6 separate regions of the Homo sapiens genome follow, and all the other regions are linked to region 6. The links are contacts of gene promoters, found by promoter capture Hi-C in blood cells and fetal thymus (Javierre and others, 2016). All regions are on one chromosome and are shown on one strand. Each heading gives the region's core, a stretch centred on a gene start or on the middle of the fragment in contact. The rest is flanking DNA. Distances are from core to core; before and after follow the strand shown.

Region 1 (3,240 bases), core at 610-3,109, 590 kb after region 6:
ATTCCCTATTTAATAAATGGTGCTGGGAAAACTGGCTAGCCATATGTAGAAAGCTGAAACTGGATCCCTTCCTTACACCTTATACAAAAATCAATTCAAGATGGATTAAAGATTTAAACGTTAAACCTAAAACCATAAAAACCCTAGAAGAAAACCTAGGCATTACCATTCAGGACATAGGCGTGGGCAAGGACTTCATGTCCAAAACACCAAAAGCAATGGCAACAAAAGACAAAATTGACAAATGGGATCTAATTAAACTAAAGAGCTTCTGCACAGCAAAAGAAACTACCATCAGAGTGAACAGGCAACCTACAACATGGGAGAAAATTTTCGCAACCTACTCATCTGACAAAGGGCTAATATCCAGAATCTACAATGAACTCAAACAAATTTACAAGAAAAAAACAAACAACCCCATCAAAAAGTGGGCGAAGGACATGAACAGACACTTCTCAAAAGAAGACATTTATGCAGCCAAAAAACACATGAAGAAATGCTCATCATCACTGGCCATCAGAGAAATGCAAATCAAAACCACTATGAGATATCATCTCACACCAGTTAGAATGGCAATCATTAAAAAGTCAGGAAACAACAGGTGCTGGAGAGGCTGCGGAGAAATAGGAACACTTTTACACTGTTGGTGGGACTGTAAACTAGTTCAACCATTGTGGAAGTCAGTGTGGCGATTCCTCAGGGATCTAGAACTAGAAATACCATTTGACCCAGCCATCCCATTACTGGGTATATACCCAAATGAGTATAAATCATGCTGCTATAAAGACACATGCACACGTATGTTTATTGTGGCACTATTCACAATAGCAAAGACTTGGAACCAACTCAAATGTCCAACAATGATAGACTGGATTAAGAAAATGTGGCACATATACACCATGGAATACTATGCAGCCATAAAAAATGATGAGTTCATATCCTTTGTAGGGACATGGATGAAATTGGAAACCATCATTCTCAGTAAACTATCGCAAGAACAAAAAACCAAACACCGCATATTCTCACTCATAGGTGGGAATTGAACAATGAGATCACATGGACACAGGAAGGGGAATATCACACTCTGGGGACTGTGGTGGGGTCGGGGGAGGGGGGAGGGATAGCATTGGGAGATATACCTAATGCTAGATGACACATTAGTGGGTGCAGCGCACCAGCATGGCACATGTATACATATGTAACTAACCTGCACAATGTGCACATGTACCCTAAAACTTAGAGTATAATAAAAAAAAAAAAAGAAAGAAAAATATGAACATTAGCTGAATTATAAACCTAAATGCAAAAGCTTCTAGTGTCTGCAATGCCAAGGAGAAGGATATGAGTCCTAGTTATCTAGGCCCAGTCAAGACAAAAATAACTAATCCAAGTTTCAACAGCCGTAACTATCAGCACCAAACATGAACAGAACACCCAGGGATGGAGCCTGAAGCTCAAGTGCAAGTGGCAGCTGGGACCAAGCACTCTCTAGCTAAGACCAGAGACGATCCAAGAGAAACTGAAGGGACACTTTTTTTGTCTCTGAGACTATCATGCCACACAAGTGACATTTTTTCTTTATTATACCCAAGTAGCATTTTGGAGAGGAAAAGAGGGATGAAGAAGAAATCTGAGATGCTGAGCATTTACATGAAGGGGCCACGTGGTAGAGTAACAGAAATGGCTACTGCCATCCCTTCTTTGAATCTATGCCCTTTGTAACATGACTTTGAAGCTCCTCCCATTGGGCAAATAATCCAGCAGACTGAATAGCAAGAGCAAAGGCCCTAAGGCAAGAAGGAGCTTAGCCGTGTTGAAGAAACACAGAGAAGGCCAGTGTTGCCGAGAAGAGGGTCAGGGGAGTGATATAAGGTGAAGTCTGAGAGGTAAGACAGCAACAGAACACATATAGCTATAACACATATAGCCTTTCAGACTAGGAAATCCCCTGTTAACAGCAGAAGGATCAAAACGTAAACCATGGTAGCCTGCTCTCCCACCGCTGTGTACAGCTGGACCTATTGTTAAAATATTAAAATGCTTTCATTCCAGTTGGTAAATAGCTATTGTGCTGATCTCCCCAAAGTGTCCCAACAGTTCTGGCCAATGATGCCCCTCCACCAGGACACTAAACCTCCCATGATCCTATAATTTAAGGTTTCAGGGCACATAGAGGCCTCTAACACTCTGATCAAGTGTCATGGCCGTATAAGTGATTAAGGATTTCCAACATCACTCCCAGGCAAAAGGCAGAGCATTTCTTTATCTACATCTTAATGAAATTCTGAACAAGCATTAATTCATTTAATGAATAAATATTCGTTAAACTCCAACTATGGGTCAGGAGGTATCACAGGCATTGAGGATGAGTGAGAGTAAACAAACCAGTTTCTGCCCTCGCAAAGCTTAGAGTGTAGCATTCAGGCAAATTATAGCCTTCAGGTAGCAACTTTTAGGCAGTGGTTCTCAACTTGGACTCCAGAATGCCGGCTGGGTTTGGTGGCTCATGCTTGTAATCCCAGCACTTTGGGAGGCTGAGGCAGGAGGATCACTTGAGGTCAGGAGTTTGAGATCAGCCTGGGCAACATAGCAAGAGCCCATCCCTACAAAAATTAACAACAAATAATGAAAAAGTACTGATGCTTGGGTCCCATTTCCAGAGGGTCTGATTTAATTGCTCTGAGGTGTGGCCAGGACGTTGGAAGTTTTTTAAGTTCCCCAGGTGATTCAATGTGCAGCCAGGGCAAAGAACCTCTCTCTTAGAGACATGTGATCTGATGTGGATAACAGATTGAATTTTTAGTAGAATCTACAGATGTAAACCAACGGTTAAGTTTTCGCTGCATGTTAACTAATAAAAAAAATCAAGATGAAAGTGATTTCCTTAAAGATCTTTGTCAAAGAATGCTAAAGGCTGTCTTTGGAGAACGGTGTTCTGTTAAAAGGGCAGTCCTGACCCAACATTAGCCAAGCCAACTAATTGTATTCTGCCAATATATAGCAGAACTCTGGGCTTTTTGAAATTGAATTCCTCAAGAGAAGGAATTTTAAATATGAACTCTCCTCCTACACCCCCTCCCTCCAGACTAGTACCTTCTCAAACTGCATTCCCCACCCAAAACTAGCTATCAGCCTGAGGAATAGGCATATGCTGAGAACTCCATGCCACAGGTAAGGATGACAGCCCCAGGGGTGAAGAACCAAGACCCAGGGTATTGAGACCACTTTTCAGATAGATTT
Region 2 (3,238 bases), core at 477-2,976, 530 kb after region 6:
CAATTCTGGACATTGCCAGGACTTGGAAACCACAATGAGATACCCCTCCCAAGACCTGGGAGTTCAGAGAAAAACCTAACTGGTGGCTTGTGTTTGTTTTGTTTTGCTTTACATTGTTCTTGTTAATTCATTAGGGCAGAAGGAAGCAACCCTCTCTCCAATTCCCACTTCACCAAACTATTGTGTTTCTAAGAAGTTTGAGCCTTTCTTACCATCACCTTTACCACCTCCAACCCCACCTGATGGAAATCAGATGCTTCTTATGAGGAAAATGGAAGTGCATTGTCCCAGAAGGGAATGGTTGAAGCCTGGTGCTTTGAGTTAGGTGAAACAGAAGAAAGGATGGCACAACCACCAGAGGGAGGTTCTCTGATAACAGAAAGGGTAGCTTAGGGGATTCCTACAAATGGCAGATAAACCCATACCTCAGAGGGAGGATGGTTGAGGGATGTCCTTGGGTCCGGGGCACTAAGTGCCTAACACGAAAAGAGACATGACAGAGCTTCAGTCTGCAAGAAGAGTCCTATGTTAGAGCATCGTGGAAGAAGCAGTCATGGATTTCAGGTAACAGTAACAAAGGTGACCACCAAGAAGAGAGTCAAGTCCTCATTCCTCCCCTACAGTCATGTAAATGCTATAGGTTATCAATATGACCCCAGGGAGAGTAGGGGTTTGTCCTGAAAACGTTACTAAGTTGAATTTGTAACCATCCATGGGGAGTATGGCCCAAGCAAGAATAATTTTTATTTAGAAAAATGTAAAGATGTTTGAATTGTTTTATAATTTAAATTTTTAAATTTGAAATTTTAATTTTAAAAAATAAAAAGAAAATATTATGATGTATTTTGAATCTAGGTGTTGCGGAACAAATTCATACCTACTAAAAATTCAGATTGTCTTCTGAGAGTTAAACTCTAGACCAGGAGTGGGCAAAGTATAGCCCATAAGGGCAAATCTGCCACCTGGTTTTATAAATAAAGTTTTACTGGAACATAACCACACCCAGGCACTTATATATTGTCTATTGCTTTCACACTACAATGTCAGGATTGAGGAGCTGTAACACAGACTGTATGGCCCACAAAACCTAAAATATTTACTGTCTGGTCCTTCACAGAAAAAAAGAACAAAATCTGTCAATCCTTGCACTAGACCAACAGAAAATGGGTGCGGGCAGCCTTCCCCTGAAAGACTCCAGATGGTTTCCCATCAGCAGAACACCTCAGAGCCTTCCTGAGCAGGTGAACAGATTTGAGACCTATGTGTAACATGATTGAAACACTGGATATATATGAGGCGTGGCCTTCTGTCTGAAATCTTTATTACTTCCTGTTTTTGAATTCTAGAAGCTTTTCCTGGAATACCAAGCTACTAGCGTCTCATAGATTGCCACATTTCTAGGTCACCTCATGAACCAGTTGCCATTTTTGATGATTATTTATCACCATTATTGGTCAGTAGTTTTTTAATGCTTCTTATACATTGTATTAGTTAGGGTTCTCTAGAGGGACAAAACTAATGGAATGTACATATATATAGAGAGAGTATTGTATTAGGGTTCTCTAGAGGGACAGAACTAATGGAATATATATATATATATATATATACACACGGGCCTTCCATTACTAGCCCATGTAGGCTGGGAGGCTAGGCCAGTCTCACTTTTCCCATTTTTCTGCTTGCTTATATTCTAGCCATGCTAGCAGCTGATTAGATTGTGCCCACCCAGAGTAAGAGTAGGCACCTTTTCCCAGCCCACTGACTCAAACAGTTAATCTCCTTTGGCAACACCCTCACAGACACACCTGGAATCAATACTTTGTATCCTTCAATCCAGTCAAGTTGACATTCAGTATTAACAATCACATGCATAAAGTACTGTGCTAAGCACTTTATACACATTTCCCACTCAATATTCAAAATAGTCCATTGAGGCAGATGCTACTTTCCCCTACTTTGAGATAAAGAATCGGAGGCCTAGGAAAGGATAGAGAGAAGTGCCAAGGCCATCAGTCTAACAAGTAGCAGAGACAGACTCAGACCTATGTCTGCCTGACTCTAGCTCATATGCTTAGAGCCACGCCTTTTCCAATGTCAAGCTTATTCCTGCTCCCAAGCATTTGTCCATGCTGCAGTTAAAGAAGTGGAAAAAGTCCCTCCCTTTTTCTTTTGTATCTATAACCCAAAGCTTATCTCAAACTCCACTTTCTCCAGGAACCCTTGAAATACTTGTGGTCATTGAACCTCACATCTCTTCACCACCTAAACATAAACCATCTTCTACTACTCTCAAATTGCTCAATATGTGTGAATCATTCTTCTCAACCAATTTTTAAATGTGTGAATCATTCTTCCCAACCAATTTTTAAATGCTCCCAGAGAAGAAATTGTTGCTTAAATTGTTGTTATTATTTTTTTAGAGATGGGGTCTTGCTCTGTCTCCAGGCACTCATGGGCTCAAGCAATCCTCCTGCCTCAGCCTCCCTAGTAGCTAGGACTACAGGCATGCACCACCATGCCTGGCTAATGTTTTAAAAAATTTTCTGTAGAGACAGAGTTTTACTATTTTGCCCAGGCTGGTCATAAACCTTAAATCGTTTTTTAAACATGACCACAGCCCTTGAGTAATTTGTATGCATCCAGAGATACGGTGGAGCTTATATGAAGGTCTGAAGATTGACCTTCTTGTTTGTTGTTGTTATCATTATTTAAGTATCCCAGTTGCTTTCTGGTTTAAAAATAACATTCTCCCACTGGAAGGCAAGACAAATCAGGAAGAGTTTAATCTCATTTGTTGACGTAATCTACTTTCAGACAGAAGAAGTAGGACAAAAGTTTAACTAGTCCTTTGAAAATTTCCTGCTTAGAAACAAAACTATACATATGTGCACACACACACGCATGCACGCACACACACACCCAATAATATGTATGTGTGTATGTATACATATATAAAAACATATACACATATGTATACACAATTATCTAAATGTTTTGTAAAATATTTTTATACTTTATTTAGCTGAAATGAAACAAAAGGTTAACAGTGATTATATCTGGGTAGTAGAAATATGGCTAGTTTTTATTTTCTTCTTTATTCCTTCTTGTATGTCCCAATTTTCTACAGTGAAAATGTGTTAGAGTCAGAAATTAACAATAGGTGATATATTTTTAAATATCCCTGCTTAGTTCCTAAGAGAAATGATAAGTCACAGACACTTGCCAAGATCAGAGTCAT
Region 3 (3,592 bases), core at 128-2,627, 610 kb after region 6:
AACAGTACCTTCCCCTATGTCAGAATCAGCACCATTTGAGCAGAAAAGTCTGGAGGAGATAGAGGTTACGGGGAAAGCTGGGCTTGAGTCAGAAAGCTGTAGCCCAATTGGGTGGGTGACCGTGTACTCACTCAAATATGTTGTACCAGAAGGGATAGAGGCTGATTAGCTAGCAACTTTGAAACCTAATAAATTAGGACTTTCCCCAGACAGGATCTAAGCACTATGGGGGAGGAAGTGGTTCTCTAATAATTTTATCTTTTGCCAAATCTTGTTAGTTATTAATAACAATAGCAAGAGAAAGAAGAGCTAATATTATAGAGCTGCTTGTACCAGAGTCCTGTGCTAAGGAAGGTGTATGTGTTCTCCCATTTAAGCTTATGAGAGCCCTGTGAGATGGGTACAACTGCCCTTGTTTACTAACACTAAGGCTTAGAGATTAGCACCCTGTCCAAGATCATATCTCTCGTAACTACAGTAGTTACTCAAACCCAGCTCTGTCCTGACTCCTGAGTCAAGGCTCCTACCAATGTAGTCTCGTGCTGTATGGAGGATTCCAAAGATGCTTTGGGGCTCAGCAGGGCAATGTCAGATGGGTACAGTCTGACAAGTCATTTATTTGCCACCTCCGTACCAGAACTAAAAGCTTCTAAAGTATACAGATTCTAGCCAGGCATGGTGGCATGTGCCTGTACTCCCAGCTACTCAGGCGTCTGAGATGGGAGGATCGCTTGAGCCCTGGGAGGTCGAGGCTGCAGTGAGCCATGATTGTGCTACTGTACTCCAGCATGGGTGACAGAGTGAGACCCTGTTTCAAGAAAAATGACAGATAGATAGATAGATAGATAGATAGATAGATAGATTCTATCTAAATAATAGTAGATGCTAGGATTATGCCTCTTTCAGCTAGCTGTCTTACTGTATCTGTTATCAGTCCATAACAATGTCCTATAAAAATTATAATGTACTGTTACAAATTTTTTTTCTTATTTGAAGCTGTATGCAATCCATAGTGATTTATCTTTTAGAATAAGGCAGCAATGGTTATAAGGCACTCACTTTACAGTAAGCGATCCTCCCATTTTCAAGATGATTAAAAAATTAAAAAACACAAATAAAGCATGTACAAGATTTTTAAAGTTAAACACACACACACACACACACACACACACACACACACACTACCATAGACTGGGTGGCTAATGAACAACAGAAATTTATTTCTCACAGTTCTGAGATTAGATGCCTGAGACCAGGGTGCCAGCATGGTGGAACTCTGGTGAGCTCCTTTTTCAGGGTTGCAGACTGCTGATCCTTGCTGTATCCTTTTATGGTGGAGAGCAGAGAGCAGTAAGCAGCAAGCTCTCTAATGACTCCTATAAGGGCATTAGTCCCATAGACCTCTTTTTTTTTTGAGACAGAGTCTCGCTATGTTGCCCAGGCTGGAGTGCAGTGGCACGATCTCAGCTCACTGCAAGCTCTGCCTCCCGGGTTCATGCCATTCTCCTGCCTCAGCCTCTCTAGTAGCTGGGACTACAGGCGCCTGCCACCACGCCCGGCTAATTTTTTGTATTTTTAGTAGAGACGGGGTTTCACAGTGTTAGCCAGGATGGTCTCGATCTCCTGACCTTGTGATCCACCCGCTCGGCCTCCCAAAGTGCTGGGATTACAGGTGTGAGCCACAGCGCCCAGCCCCCATAGACCTCTTCTAATTTAAATTACCTCCCAAAGGCCCTACCTCCTAATACCATAACATTGTGGATAGGGTTTCAACATATGAGTTTTGGGGGAACAGATACACACCTCAAAATAATAACAGCCATCTATGACTGTGTGGGTACACAGTAGGTGTATATATTTATGGGGTGCATTTGTTATAGACTAAGATATCATATTCCTATTCTAATGGCTGGCTGTATTTTCCAAGGCAATTAACTCAAAAGAATATTATTTAAAGAATCTGGTATATGAGGGCCTCTAGACACCTTGACACGAAACTTCTAAAAACATAATGCAAGATGAAAAACCTTTGAAAGCCTCTTCTCTTCAGAGCTGAACTGAGGAGTCACATCAGGCTAGAAAATGGTTCTGGGACTAAGCCAAGCTTTGAGCTGTCAGAGGAAAGGCTACATTGAAACAGAATTGCATCATCTCTGGGAACTCAGTGTTAACTGGTATAAACCAACATTATTGTTCTTAAATGTTCTCATGAGAAAAGAACATTTAAACTACTAATGTGATTTTCTTCTCCTCACACTCTTTCCTTATCCCAGGGAGGAAAATATTTATCCTTCTTACATAATTTGCTCTTCCTTATGTTGCCAAATGCCTTGTGATAGTATTACACTTGACAGATATCTTATTGAGAAGTTGCCAGCAACCAAAAGATAATTAGCTTAGTCTTCCAAGCATATAAAAAACCAGAGTGGACTATGCACAATAAATTGGAAATAGTGTCTAACTCCTCATATTTCAACGAAATTCACTGGGGTTATGAACAATTCTGCATCTTAAAGAATGCTTTGTGCAATAGAATTTTTTGCTGAAAGGAGATAAGCCCTTATTTATAAGAGGATAGAAGTAGAGAAGGACTACACAGTTGTCTTTGTCAGCTTGGAGTGCCATAACAAAATATGATAGACTGAGTGGCTTGAACAACAACTTTTTATTTCTCGGAGTTTTGCAGACTGGAAGTCTGAGATCAGGGTGCCAGCTGATTTGGTGGCTAGTGAGGGCCCTCTTCCAAGGTTGCTTCTCCTTGTAAAATCATGTGGAGAAAAGAGGGTGAGCTAGCTTTCTTATAAGGGAACTAATTCCACTCCTCAGGGTTCCACCCTCATGATCTAATTAGCTCTCAAAGGCCCCATCTGCAAATACTGTCACACTGGGGATTAGATTTCAACATATGAACTTGGGGGAGACACAAACATTCAGTCCATAGCAACAGGGAATCAACAAACATTTGTGAGATGTCCACTTGGTCAGGCACAGTGCCAAACTCCAAGAATATAAAGAAGGGTGAGACCTAAGGAAATTAACAGTCTCACAAAGAGAGGAGAGGGGATTTTGTACAGCAACTCTTGCAGTGAGCAAAAAGAGATCAGTTTAAAAACAAAACCCATATGATCATCTCAATTGACACAGAAAAAGCATTCAATAAAATCCAAAATCCCTTCATGATAAAAACCCTCAATGAACTGGACATCAAAGGAATACACCTCAAAATAATAACAGCCATCTATGACAAACCCATAGCCAACATCCCATACTGAAGGTTAAAAAGCTGGAACAAGACAAGAATGTCACTTTGGGAGGCTGAGGCAGGCAGATCACTTGGGGTCAGGAGTTCAGTACCATCCTGGCCAACATGGTGACACCTCATCTCTACAGAAAACACAAAAATTAGCAGGCTGTGGTGGTGCGCATCTGTGGTCCCAACTACTCGGGAGGCTGAGGCACAAGAATTGCTTGAGCCTGGGAGGCAGAGGTTGCAGTGAGCCGACATGGCACCACTATACTCCAGACTGGGCAACAGAGTGAGGTTCCATCTCAAAAAAAAAAAAAAAAAAAAAAAAGACAATGTCACTTTCAC
Region 4 (3,710 bases), core at 129-2,628, 580 kb after region 6:
TGATTCACCAAAGGAAATAAAGTGATCAAAACTGAACAGAAGGTTGAAGGGATTTCATGATGGATAATTACTCATATAACGCAACCACAAGAAAAGGGGTAATTCCGAGTTTTCTCTAATTTTTGCCTGTGCTTGCAAAAGGATAAAGAAGCCAGAATCCACATGGTATCTACTGGTTACAAAGAAAGGAGCAATAATAGGATAAAAATAATTTGAAGCATGCTATCAAATGAGTTGAAACCCAATTTCTGCATCCCTGATGGGTGGCCAAATTTTAGGGACACCCCTTTTCCAAAGCTCTCTTGTAACATTCTCATACCTTTGAGATTCTGATAGGATCCTATCTTCCCGGGCTAAAAAATAAATTCCTCCTCAAGACATTGATTATGGAAATGGTCATCAGAATTCCTCTCCATGATCATGAGACACTAGAATTTGGAGGGGGGCCAGCTTCACTTAAGAAGGTGTTTTTCTAACCCCCTTCTCTTTTAACCCCCTAAATTCTCCTGATAGCCATTTTGACAATGTTTCAAACTGAACAGGTTTTTAAAGTAAAAAGAAATCATATTATATCATCATTATCAATTCAATCAATCCTTAATTATTTGATGGGAATAAAATGTGAATTATGTCAAGCAGCAGATAATTACAATTTAACTCTTAAACTAGTTTATTTGCTTTGTGGACTTCCCAAGATCTCTTCCCCACCATCATACCACAGGATTCTAGGTTATAAAAGAAGTATCAAGTTGGAAGAAACTTGGAGCTAGGAATAGAAGAGAAGAGTTTTGACTGTCAGTAAATATGGGAGTGGGTGTATCTCAATATCAAAAATACATTATTTTTAGGTAATCTGTCTGTCTTTTTATGTGGATAACTAAATAATTACTAGAACTAGCTTTGTAATGCAGTTATATGCTCAGATATATACATACACACGCACACCTTCACCAAACTGAGAAAAGCTTCTCTTTATGTTTGACTCTCTATTGGTACACTTTAGTAAGAAATGATATGAAACAAGAGAAAATGCTAGCTCCTATTTTATGAGGAAGAATTCTATCTTAGCCTGGATTCCCCCAAAGCAGAGCCTGAGGCAAAAACTTCCTTCCAGATAGTTTATTTTGGAATATGCTTCCCAGGAAGCAAGTGTACAGGACAGGGAAAGCAAAATAGGAAGAAGGCAAAGCTGATACAGGGATGTATTACTGAGTTGGCCACTACTATGAGCAGCCAGTGCTTGGTCTACCAGGATGTGCCAGAGTCTGGTGACCTGCATCTCAGAAGCGTCCATCCTGGGGACAAAAGAGGGAAGGATTTATCTGTCTCCTCCTTTCTCCCACTCAAGGATTTACTCCCCTAAAGTTTTAGAAATTTGAATATCTGTAATTATGGAGCAGAATTCCATGTCTGTGGCACCAGCAAGCCATAAGGCGTGAAACTAGAGGTATATGGCCATGGCATGAGTGCATAACAAGTCTCAGTCTAATTGTACCTGCATGAAGCAGATTCAGTTCTGCAAGAACTAGTAGTCATAAAAGTAGCTTGGTTAAGAAGTAAACCTGAGAAATAGACAAAGTTGTTCAATATAAACAAATAAGGTTGAAATGAATCAAGAGATTCATTTCAAGACAGCTGTTAGGAATTTATCTTATGTCAAAAATGCCATACCTCTGCTCGCAAACATGCACCCATCATCACTGTGTTAACTAAAGAGGGAAGAATAGTTTTCTCTGTATCATCCCTGCCACCAGAGAAAAATGTAGCAGCTCTCATCTAGCACAAGCTTTCAGCATCTGAGAGTGACAAAGACAGATGGCATATTTCTGAAATATAATTTGATTGTTTGGTGGGGACTTGAAAGAGTATCTTGGGTTCAACAAATACAAGATCACACATGGCTAAAAAATATTCAGCAGCAAACTAAAAACAGAATTTAAAAGCTCGAGTAATTATTATTTTGCATGAAAAGCAACTAATAGTCTCCAGGTCAAACCATCCTCAAGGCTTAAAAGCAGCAAGACTCCCATGGGTTTGGCTTAAAATGATCCATGGACCTCATATTTATGTGCATACCCCATAAGAGAGGTACAAAATTAGACAATGTACCCTATACAAAAAGGAGAATTTGTCTTAAGACAAAATCCACTCAAAGCCTCAATATAAAGAACAAAGATGTGACCAAAAGAAAGTTTAAAAAATTGTACATCTTTGCATTTATTCATTTGATCCTTGCTAGTCTTGGCATAAGCCATGACTCTCTGTGAATGAGCCCCTAGAGGAAACTGGGCTATGGTGTTCAGGAAAACAAGGCAACTGGCAGACCTAAGAGAAAGGATTATATTTCCCATAGGATTCCCATGGGAATTTGAGGCTAAACTCTTGGCTTATTTCACTGCAGACAAATATTTTATATATAGTGATCCAAAAGCTCTCCTAGTTGACTCACCAACTTGAACCATGAGCGTCTACCCCAGGTGAGTCCACATTCCTCAACAGGCTGACCACACACTGGAAGCCACAAGATTCACTGCCAAGTGGGCAGCAAATGCCAATAATGTCAGGCTAGTAGGCAGAATTTCCATGGAGAAAGTACTTTATAAATGCTAATGTAATTATCTTAAAAAGTTAACCTCAAGTTTTAAAAAAATTGTCCTCATTAATCATATTCACTATTAAAACTAAGCCATGAGGCTTAATGCCTTGGGAAAGGAGGCAGAGCCACCTAGAACAAAGATGTCTGCAGATGAACAGGAAGAAGGGAATGCCTTAGGGGGTATCCCCAACAGAGAGGGCAGGTCATACCCTATCTGGAGGGGAAAAAAGATTGAGAAGGAAAGAATGTAGGAGGAAGGGTTTGCTTGGTCTCATAAGGGGCCAGTGCTCCCACCCCTCTGCTCCTTAGCTCAGGCAGCAGGAGTGGACGATGAAAGGAGAGAAATGCAAGATAGAGAGAAGGTAATAAAAACAGGATTCAGACATGCCCACAGGCCAATGAGGGGCACAAAAATTGTAGCTGAGAGTAAAGATTACCAGGCTGAAAAAGTAACTCCATGGGGTGGACATGGGCCATGGAGTGGACATCCTGGGCAAGGATACTGGATAAGGCTTAGGTGGGACTTGAGAGCTGAGGACCTAGGAGAGGACCTGTTCTCCTAGCAAGGCCTAGGAGAACCTAGATAGAACTGAATCAGCAGCAGTCCTAGCCATCAACTTCTGCAGTTGAAGCCAGGAGGGTATCCAGGGAACAGCAAGAGCATAAAGCCCTCTTCTCCCGTCTGCCACAAGGATAAATTAGCTGCCCTCTATGTCGAGATACTGTGTTGTCCAGGGAAGAAACTCTGAGAGCTTGAATATGCATATAAAATGAGACTGTTACCATCAATTGGCACATTTTAAGTTCCCTGGCCAGCCTCTAATGAGATGCAGACTTGATGGCCAAGTGAAATAAATTATAGAAAATAATAGTATAATACATGCACATCTGAATTGTGTCTTTCAGAATAAGTTATGCTGAGGTCATAAACTGTGTCAAAATCTCAGCAGCTCAATACAATATGTTATTTCTTGCCCATAGAAGATGTGTATCTCACATCAGCAGGTCTATGGGTGGGGACTCTCTGCTCCATATTGTCCTCGCTCTAGCACCCGGACTATTGGAGTCTCTGTCATCTAGAATATCTCAGCTTCTGATAGCAGAGGAAAAAGAG
Region 5 (3,165 bases), core at 538-3,037, 560 kb after region 6:
GCAAAGAGACAGTGAACTCTGCAGTTACATAACACAAAACTCCCAGTTATCTTTGTTCCTTTTCTCTCTGCTTAGAGATGAGCAGACATCAAAACAGACTGACAATATTGCTACTTGTTTAAAGCTAGAAGTTTAAGAGTAGGCGCCTGTTTGACTTCACATAATAAAACATTAATTGAACTTCACAGTTGAAAACAGTAAGAATATGTTATTTGCATAATGGCGTATGTGTCAGGTCTTCAGTAATTCTTTGATATCAAGACTTGGTGCAGAGCTCCATGGTGATAGTGGCTGGAATGTTTGAAGCAGTGTTTTTCTCAAAGCTTCCTTTGAAAATATAAATTCCAGACTTAATCCTGTGGCTCCTCTGTACTTATGTATGTGATTTGTTGGGAGAAGCACAGTATGCCCTAGTTTTGGCTTGAGCACAATGTCTTAAACCTCTAGCCTATGCAATTTATATTCACCTACAAAGCAAATGGCATACACTTATGCTTAATTGCCTCCTTGTGTTGCCCAGAATTTAGTGTCTGAGTTAATTAGAAATGGATGGCTCTGAGGTAATTCCACTTCAAGAAATTCTCTCTTCCTCTATCCCTAGTACCTCCTTGCTGTCTCTGTGTTCCTGTGGATTGGTGGAGTGAGGGACAACAACATCACTTTGGATGAGTGGAGATAAATACAATAGGAAGTTAGGGTGCTCAAGATAGCAGTCCTAACTCTAGGTCTTCTGGGCAAGAAGATCAAAGGTCCCCCAAAAAAGGATAGCAAGGACTATAGCAGTTGTTTGGGCATGGGTGCCCCTCATCAGTAATAGGTGAAGTGTACTTCTACAGGACACTGGGAGATGGTGGGGACATGGATGCAGCTGTCACATGGCTATGGGCTAAGCTTATAAAGTAGAGAGGTATACTTAAGGGTCCCATGAGGCATCATGGTCTCAAGGACAATTTTTCTTAAAAATGTTAAAATGATCCCAAGATACCTGAAAGTGGAGATGCAGCTACAAGTTATACAAGGTAAGCTTCACCAGAAGAGACAAAAATCACTAGGTTTGGTACAAGTTTAGAATTTAAATTACATGGCTTTTTTATTATTAAAGTTTTATTACTAATGTGTGCTCCTCAGCCACCTTTCCTGTTTCCTGTGGGAACTGACCTCCTCCTAGCAATCCACATAGTAGAGGGGTATCAGGAAAAGGAACCCCTCCATCATGGGCCAGGCAGATCCTTCCTTAGGGATTTGGAATTGCAAGTAGGAGATTCCAGTTGGTCTAGCTCTCCTGTCTTTAATTGAGGAAATGTATGCAAACCTGGGAGCTGCTGGCTGTGACTATTGTGTCATGTGTGCTGAAAAATAGAGACAGGTGGTCTATACCAAGAAAAAATGGAGCAGATGCATGGAGAAAAATGGAGACATGAGACAAAGAGAGAAAATGTTCTGGTTCCCTACAACCTTCCTTTTCTGGATTCCTGAGACTCAACTGTACCCTGCTCTTGGGTTGTCTGAGACACCCTCGAATCCTTATATTTGATCGGGCTTTTACCTAGGCTAATCCCAGTAGGTCTCTGTTATTTGATTCTGCTTGTTTTAAGAGATGCTGAAGAAGTATGTTATTTATATGTGCAATTGTACAGTAACAAGAACAGTGGCACTGTGGAAATAGACTAAAACCACCCAAATGAAAAGAAAGAGGCTATTTATTCAGTTTGGTATAACAAGGGAGTCAGCCACTGTCACTTGTTTTGGGCAGAGTTTCAAAGGCAGGCAGGGGAATAGAAAGGCTTTATTGTGAAAAGAATGGAAGGCTTCACGTGTGTCCTGATTGGAGGTTGTTAGCATGGAGATACTAGAGGTGGGCTAACTAGAAGTGGGACATCTTCTATGATTTGCTTGGGGAACATACTTGACTTTCTCTGCTGGTCCTAAGTTGGAAAAGTGGGGACAAAAATAGGAAAGTTTCCTTCTAGGCCAGTTGCTACAGAGGTTGTGGGTCAAAGTTGTATTGTCATATCTGTGTGGTCTAGCCATTGTCTGTATCTTCAGTCTCTCAGATCACATATTCATGGAGTACCTCTTTTTGTTTCTTTGTTTTTGTTTTTTTAAAGACAGAATCTCACTCTGTTGCCCAGGCTGGAGTACAGTGGTGCAATCACAGCTCACTGTGGTATTTAACTCCTGGACTCAAACGATCCTCCTGCCTCAGCCTCCCAAGTCGTGAGACTACAGGAGTGTGCCACCATGCATGGCTAAATAATAATAATAATTATTATTATTATTATTATTATTATTATTATTATTATTATTTTGGTAGAGATGGGGGTCTTGCTCTGTTGGTCAGGCTGGTCTTGAACTCCCGATCTCTAGTGACCCCCTGTCTCAGCCTTCCAAAGTGCTGAGATTATAGATGCAAACCACTGTGCCCTGTCTTGGCCTCCCAAAGTGATAGGATTACACATGTGAGCCACTGGGCCCCGCCACGTACCTCCTAACTGATAAAACTGACAATCTCACACCTGGCTGCATGTTAGAATAACCCGAGAAGCTTAAAAATACTACCCTAGACCAATCAGACCAGAATCTTTGAGGATGAAGTCCAGACCCCAGTGTTTGTAAATAGTTCTCCAGGCAATTCCAATGCACGGTCCTGGTTAACAAGCAAATACATGAAGAACTGACACATGCCTTGGCAAGGCTGCTGACTTCTCCACTGATCTTCTTTTCTGGAAGATACATGATTAGCAAGGTCTTATAGACATTAGACAGACTGGTAAGACTCAGAAGCCATGAAATAAGAAAAGTGGATTCACCAGGCACAAAGTAGGTGCTTGCTAAATGTGTTCTCTAGAGTGAATGTTCTTCCTAATATTTTCATGCATTTATAAGGCTGTTCCCTGATGGCAAAGCCACCACAATGGTTTAAACAGGAGATTTGGAGGATCTCAATTAATAAAAGGTGTCATTTATTCAGCCCATTCTAGTTTGTAAGCATTATGCTGAGCACTTTGTGTATTATGCCACCTGGACTTTACCATTATACCTCACAAGTTTAAACTGAAATGCAGATTTACCCCAGAGGTACTATTTGCTCCAAAGTTACCATTTTAGATAATCTAATTATTTAATTAACAAACATACATTGAATACCTATATGCCAACATTATT
Region 6 (3,494 bases), core at 336-2,835:
GCTATCCACAGAGAGACCAGCTGAGAGGTGTAATGCTGGCTGGAGTCCCAGCATTAGAACTACAGGCTGCAGGCCAGACATGATGGATGTGCTCCAGACTCCGCAGAAATCACCCTGGAGAGTGGGAAAAGCAGGGCTGACCAAGCAAGGGAGAAAGATGAAACCTCTGCATCCTTCCCTGTCCAATAAGATAGCCATTAGCTACCTGTGGCTGTTTACATTTAAATTAATGAAAATTAGATAAAATAAAAATGCAATTCCTCAGTCTCATTAGCCACATTTCAAGTGCTTGATAGCCATATATGGCTAGTGGCTGCCAGATTGGACAGTGCAGATATAAGATATTAATATTTCCATCACGCAGAAAGCTCTACTTGAATGTAAATTACCTCATTAATATATTTTGTATTGATTACATGTTGAAATAACATTCTGGACATATAGAGTTAAATAAGCTATAATATTAACTTCACCTGCTTCTTTTTACGTGTTTTACTGTGGGTAATAGAAACTTGTCAATTACCAATGTAGTTCATATTTCTATTGAACAGCGTGGTTGTAGGTGGATACAGGAACACACCTCCATTTATTCATTGTTCTTAACACCTCATCCATCCAATGGTATTTGATTGGATAATAGCTGTAAAAATCCCTTCTCAACAGTAAAGGTGACTGAGGCAGCCCCAGGGTAATGGGGCAAATGCAACTTTGGAGGCACAAAAATTCAGGTTCAAATCTCATCTCCATCCCTCTACTAGCTTTGAAGTCTTGGGCAAATTACATGCCTCAGTTTCTCATCTGAAAAATGCAATCAGTGAATGATCCACTGCATAGCATTTCTTTGAAGTTTAAAGAAGACAGTGGGTAGTGCACGTATGGGGGCTAGCGTGGGCTCCTAGTAAACCTCGGTAAAAGGTAGCATTGTTGTTATCATTACCATTTTAAGTGTGAAAGTGTAGGGGATTATGGTCAGTTTCTCTGGCCTCAGCCTACTCACAACCCTACCCGCTGCCTTCAGCAGCCCCTCCCAGCCCTCTGCAAAGCCCTTGGCACAGCCTGGACACTTACCTGCTGGCAGCTGCTGGCCCAGGAAGCCCGTAGGGCACCCCAGTTTCCCGAGCGTGTGGCTTTGCTCTCCAGGTGCATCCGCAGTTGTGTTTCCAGCTCCTGACTGACTTGCTCAAGGGCGTGCACTTTGGCCATATATTCCACCAGGCAGCCCCCTAGGTCCTCAACAGCACCATGGTCCCTCTCCAAACCTGGAGCCGGCACGGTGGCCAGGCCTGAGCTCCGCAGGCCCTGAAGGAAGACACTGCTGATGCCGAGGGCCCGGCGGGTCACACGGGCACCCAAGCCACCTATGCACCCACTGGGTGCTGTTCCTACATAGACCCCGGGTGCTCGGACAAGGCCACTCATGGCATTGGTCCTGGAGGCTGGGGGGCTCTCCAGGGAGGATGATGACCGTGGCCCCCTGAAGGACGCCCTGCGCCTCTGGAGGGGCATGCTGGAGCTGGCACTGGTGGGCAAGTCCACTACCACTCGCCTCTCACTCATCACCCCTTCTGCCTCTGTGGTGCCCAGTGGGTTTACAGAGTCCAGTGGCTTTTGGTTTACAGCCCCAGCATCCCTGTGGCCTGGTCACGGGCCTCTCTGGAATCTCCCCTATCCCTGGGGCTGCTTTGTCTGCTGTCTTCCATGAGTTTCCATCATTCACTGAGCTGAAAGAGAAATGGGCACTGCCCAGGGCTGTGTGCAGAGAGGCACTCATGCATTCTTTGATGCAGGGTCATGTGCCCAACCTCCCAGATTATTCTGCTGGTGGTGGGGGAGGCTGGATCAGTGCAGGCTGTGGAGGTAGACCATTTGGGTTTGTGCATTTTACTACCTAAGTGGGCAAGGCAGGCATCAAGCAACCCCATTTTACAGATGAGTAAACTGAGGCTCAAGGACCTCAGATGACAAGTGTACTGATCACTTGCCCCAGACCTCAGATTACAAGCTAGGACTCAATCTAGCTATTTCAGGGCTTTCTACATCCCTATGTGTGCTGGCACATGTGAATGTGAACACATGTCCACACAGGCAATAGAGGATGAAAAATGGCAGGAGGCAGCTCCAGGGACCCAAGAGAAAAGACTTGCCTATGGTTTCCTCTCTCAGTCCTGGCAGCAGCTTCAGGTCCTTCCCTCACCTCTCTCCTTTCCTCCTCATCTCTGTCCTCTAATGCTCTGCTGTTCATCAGCTGCTTGCTGTTGGCCAGGATGCTTCCTCCCTCTGGACCTCACTGTCTGAACATTGGCTTGGGCCTTTAACTCTCTGATGCACCAGATAAGGACCTTGGGCAAATTCAGATCCCACACATGTTCCGGCCATTCCCTACACCTCTGCTTCTCCATCTGTTGGAAAACTGAGAAATAAAAACAACAACGAGGGTGTTTTCTGGTAAGCCTCTCCAAGGGTGCCCCAAGTTAGGATATGATGACACCCCTGGGTTTTAATTATTGACCTTGGCATCCACTAAGCCACCAAGGGTCACACCTCAATCACTTCTCTAGGATCAGAAAGGTTCCCCCAGTTACAGGATGACAACATGGACCTAAAAACCTCTGTACATAAGTTTTACCCTGGAGAAACCAGGTCACCAAACCCCAGAGCTGGATACTTTTCCAGATGCTGTAATGTAGGAATGTACCTCAGGTGAGAGAAGGAGAAGGGAGTCAATCTCTAGTGAGTAGCAGATCCAGCCTGGTGTGTGCATGAATCCTATGGTTTATTTCGTGGAATTCTCAACTCAACCTCAGGAGGAAGGAGGTCCAGGGTTGACAGGTACTGCCATATGGGCTGTGTACCTCACAGCTCTAAAATGACATGTCCTACAGTTGGCCACTGTCCTCTTATGTGAGGAGGACCCCGAGAGCTGCAATGACTTGCCCAAGGTTCTATGTCCAGAAAGTAGCAGAGCTGGGGGCAGACAACCTCTTCCAAACTCTGGGCCACTGACTTACTTAGGAGCCTCCCTGTTGCCCACCACCCAGAGAGCAGAGTACCTACCTGAGGTCACGCAGGTAGAGGTAAAAAACCTGGTCGCCTACTAGAGGACCCTGTGTGCACTTCCTTCCTACTGACCAGGACACTCCAACCCTTCCTTTCTTTATTGTCTTCCACTTTGTCTCTCTGAGATGGCCTGGGAGGTATTTTATAAATATCAGTGTTGGCTATTTGATGAACAGATGAAAGAACCAATTGGATTAAGTAAAGGCCAGTAGTGTCCTTGTTTATTCAGATGTAGCATTAATGCTGTGAACACCACCCCTGATGCACCCAGAAGGGGCATGCGAGCCTGTGTTACAGTAACAGCCTCCTATACGGATGACACTGACTTGGTTCTGAGGATCTGCATTATTGTGAATTCCAAGATGTATTGTCCAAGGCTGAATGAAAAGTTCAGGCTACTGATTAAGTTGTGCACAAATGTGTCATGTTTAGGCATT

Evidence for each region. The method cuts DNA at HindIII sites, captures the fragments that hold promoters and counts their contacts. A CHiCAGO score of 5 or more calls a contact.
Region 1: a fragment that was not itself captured here is called in contact with the fragment with the promoter of BFSP2 in region 6 in 2 of 17 cell types (megakaryocytes and M2 macrophages); the score reaches 5.3 in megakaryocytes.
Region 2: a contact is called between a fragment that was not itself captured here and the fragment with the promoter of BFSP2 in region 6, in 1 of 17 cell types (megakaryocytes). The highest score is 6.3, in megakaryocytes.
Region 3: a fragment that was not itself captured here is called in contact with the fragment with the promoter of BFSP2 in region 6 in 4 of 17 cell types (endothelial precursors, M1 macrophages, erythroblasts and 1 more); the score reaches 7.7 in endothelial precursors.
Region 4: a fragment that was not itself captured here is called in contact with the fragment with the promoter of BFSP2 in region 6 in 2 of 17 cell types (erythroblasts and endothelial precursors); the score reaches 5.8 in erythroblasts.
Region 5: a contact is called between a fragment that was not itself captured here and the fragment with the promoter of BFSP2 in region 6, in 1 of 17 cell types (megakaryocytes). The highest score is 8.4, in megakaryocytes.

The regions. Positions count from the first base shown.
Region 1 is chr3:132,805,110-132,808,349 of GRCh38, reverse strand. All of the region lies in intron 5 of NPHP3-AS1 (NPHP3 antisense RNA 1), which reads right to left. Among named protein-coding and RNA genes, the nearest start is that of NPHP3-ACAD11, 84 kb to the right of the region's middle. The HindIII fragment of the contact is 1,096 bases long and covers 1,312-2,407 here.
Region 2 is chr3:132,867,152-132,870,389 of GRCh38, reverse strand. The region is part of intron 10 of NPHP3-AS1 (NPHP3 antisense RNA 1); the gene reads right to left. Among named protein-coding and RNA genes, the nearest start is that of NPHP3-ACAD11, 150 kb to the right of the region's middle. The HindIII fragment of the contact is 750 bases long and covers 1,352-2,101 here.
Region 3 is chr3:132,787,123-132,790,714 of GRCh38, reverse strand. The region is part of intron 3 of NPHP3-AS1 (NPHP3 antisense RNA 1); the gene reads right to left. The region is part of intron 2 of LOC105374115 (a long non-coding RNA gene); the gene reads left to right. Among named protein-coding and RNA genes, the nearest start is that of NPHP3-ACAD11, 66 kb to the right of the region's middle. The HindIII fragment of the contact is 1,458 bases long and covers 649-2,106 here.
Region 4 is chr3:132,821,096-132,824,805 of GRCh38, reverse strand. All of the region lies in intron 8 of NPHP3-AS1 (NPHP3 antisense RNA 1), which reads right to left. Among named protein-coding and RNA genes, the nearest start is that of NPHP3-ACAD11, 100 kb to the right of the region's middle. The HindIII fragment of the contact is 821 bases long and covers 968-1,788 here.
Region 5 is chr3:132,838,981-132,842,145 of GRCh38, reverse strand. All of the region lies in intron 9 of NPHP3-AS1 (NPHP3 antisense RNA 1), which reads right to left. Among named protein-coding and RNA genes, the nearest start is that of NPHP3-ACAD11, 120 kb to the right of the region's middle. The HindIII fragment of the contact is 1,521 bases long and covers 1,027-2,547 here.
Region 6 is chr3:133,398,147-133,401,640 of GRCh38, reverse strand. BFSP2 (beaded filament structural protein 2) reads right to left here and starts at 1,585. Exons shown (of 7, transcript NM_003571.4): 1 at 1,069-1,585. The coding sequence starts at 1,557. The HindIII fragment of the contact is 8,153 bases long and covers 1-3,494 here.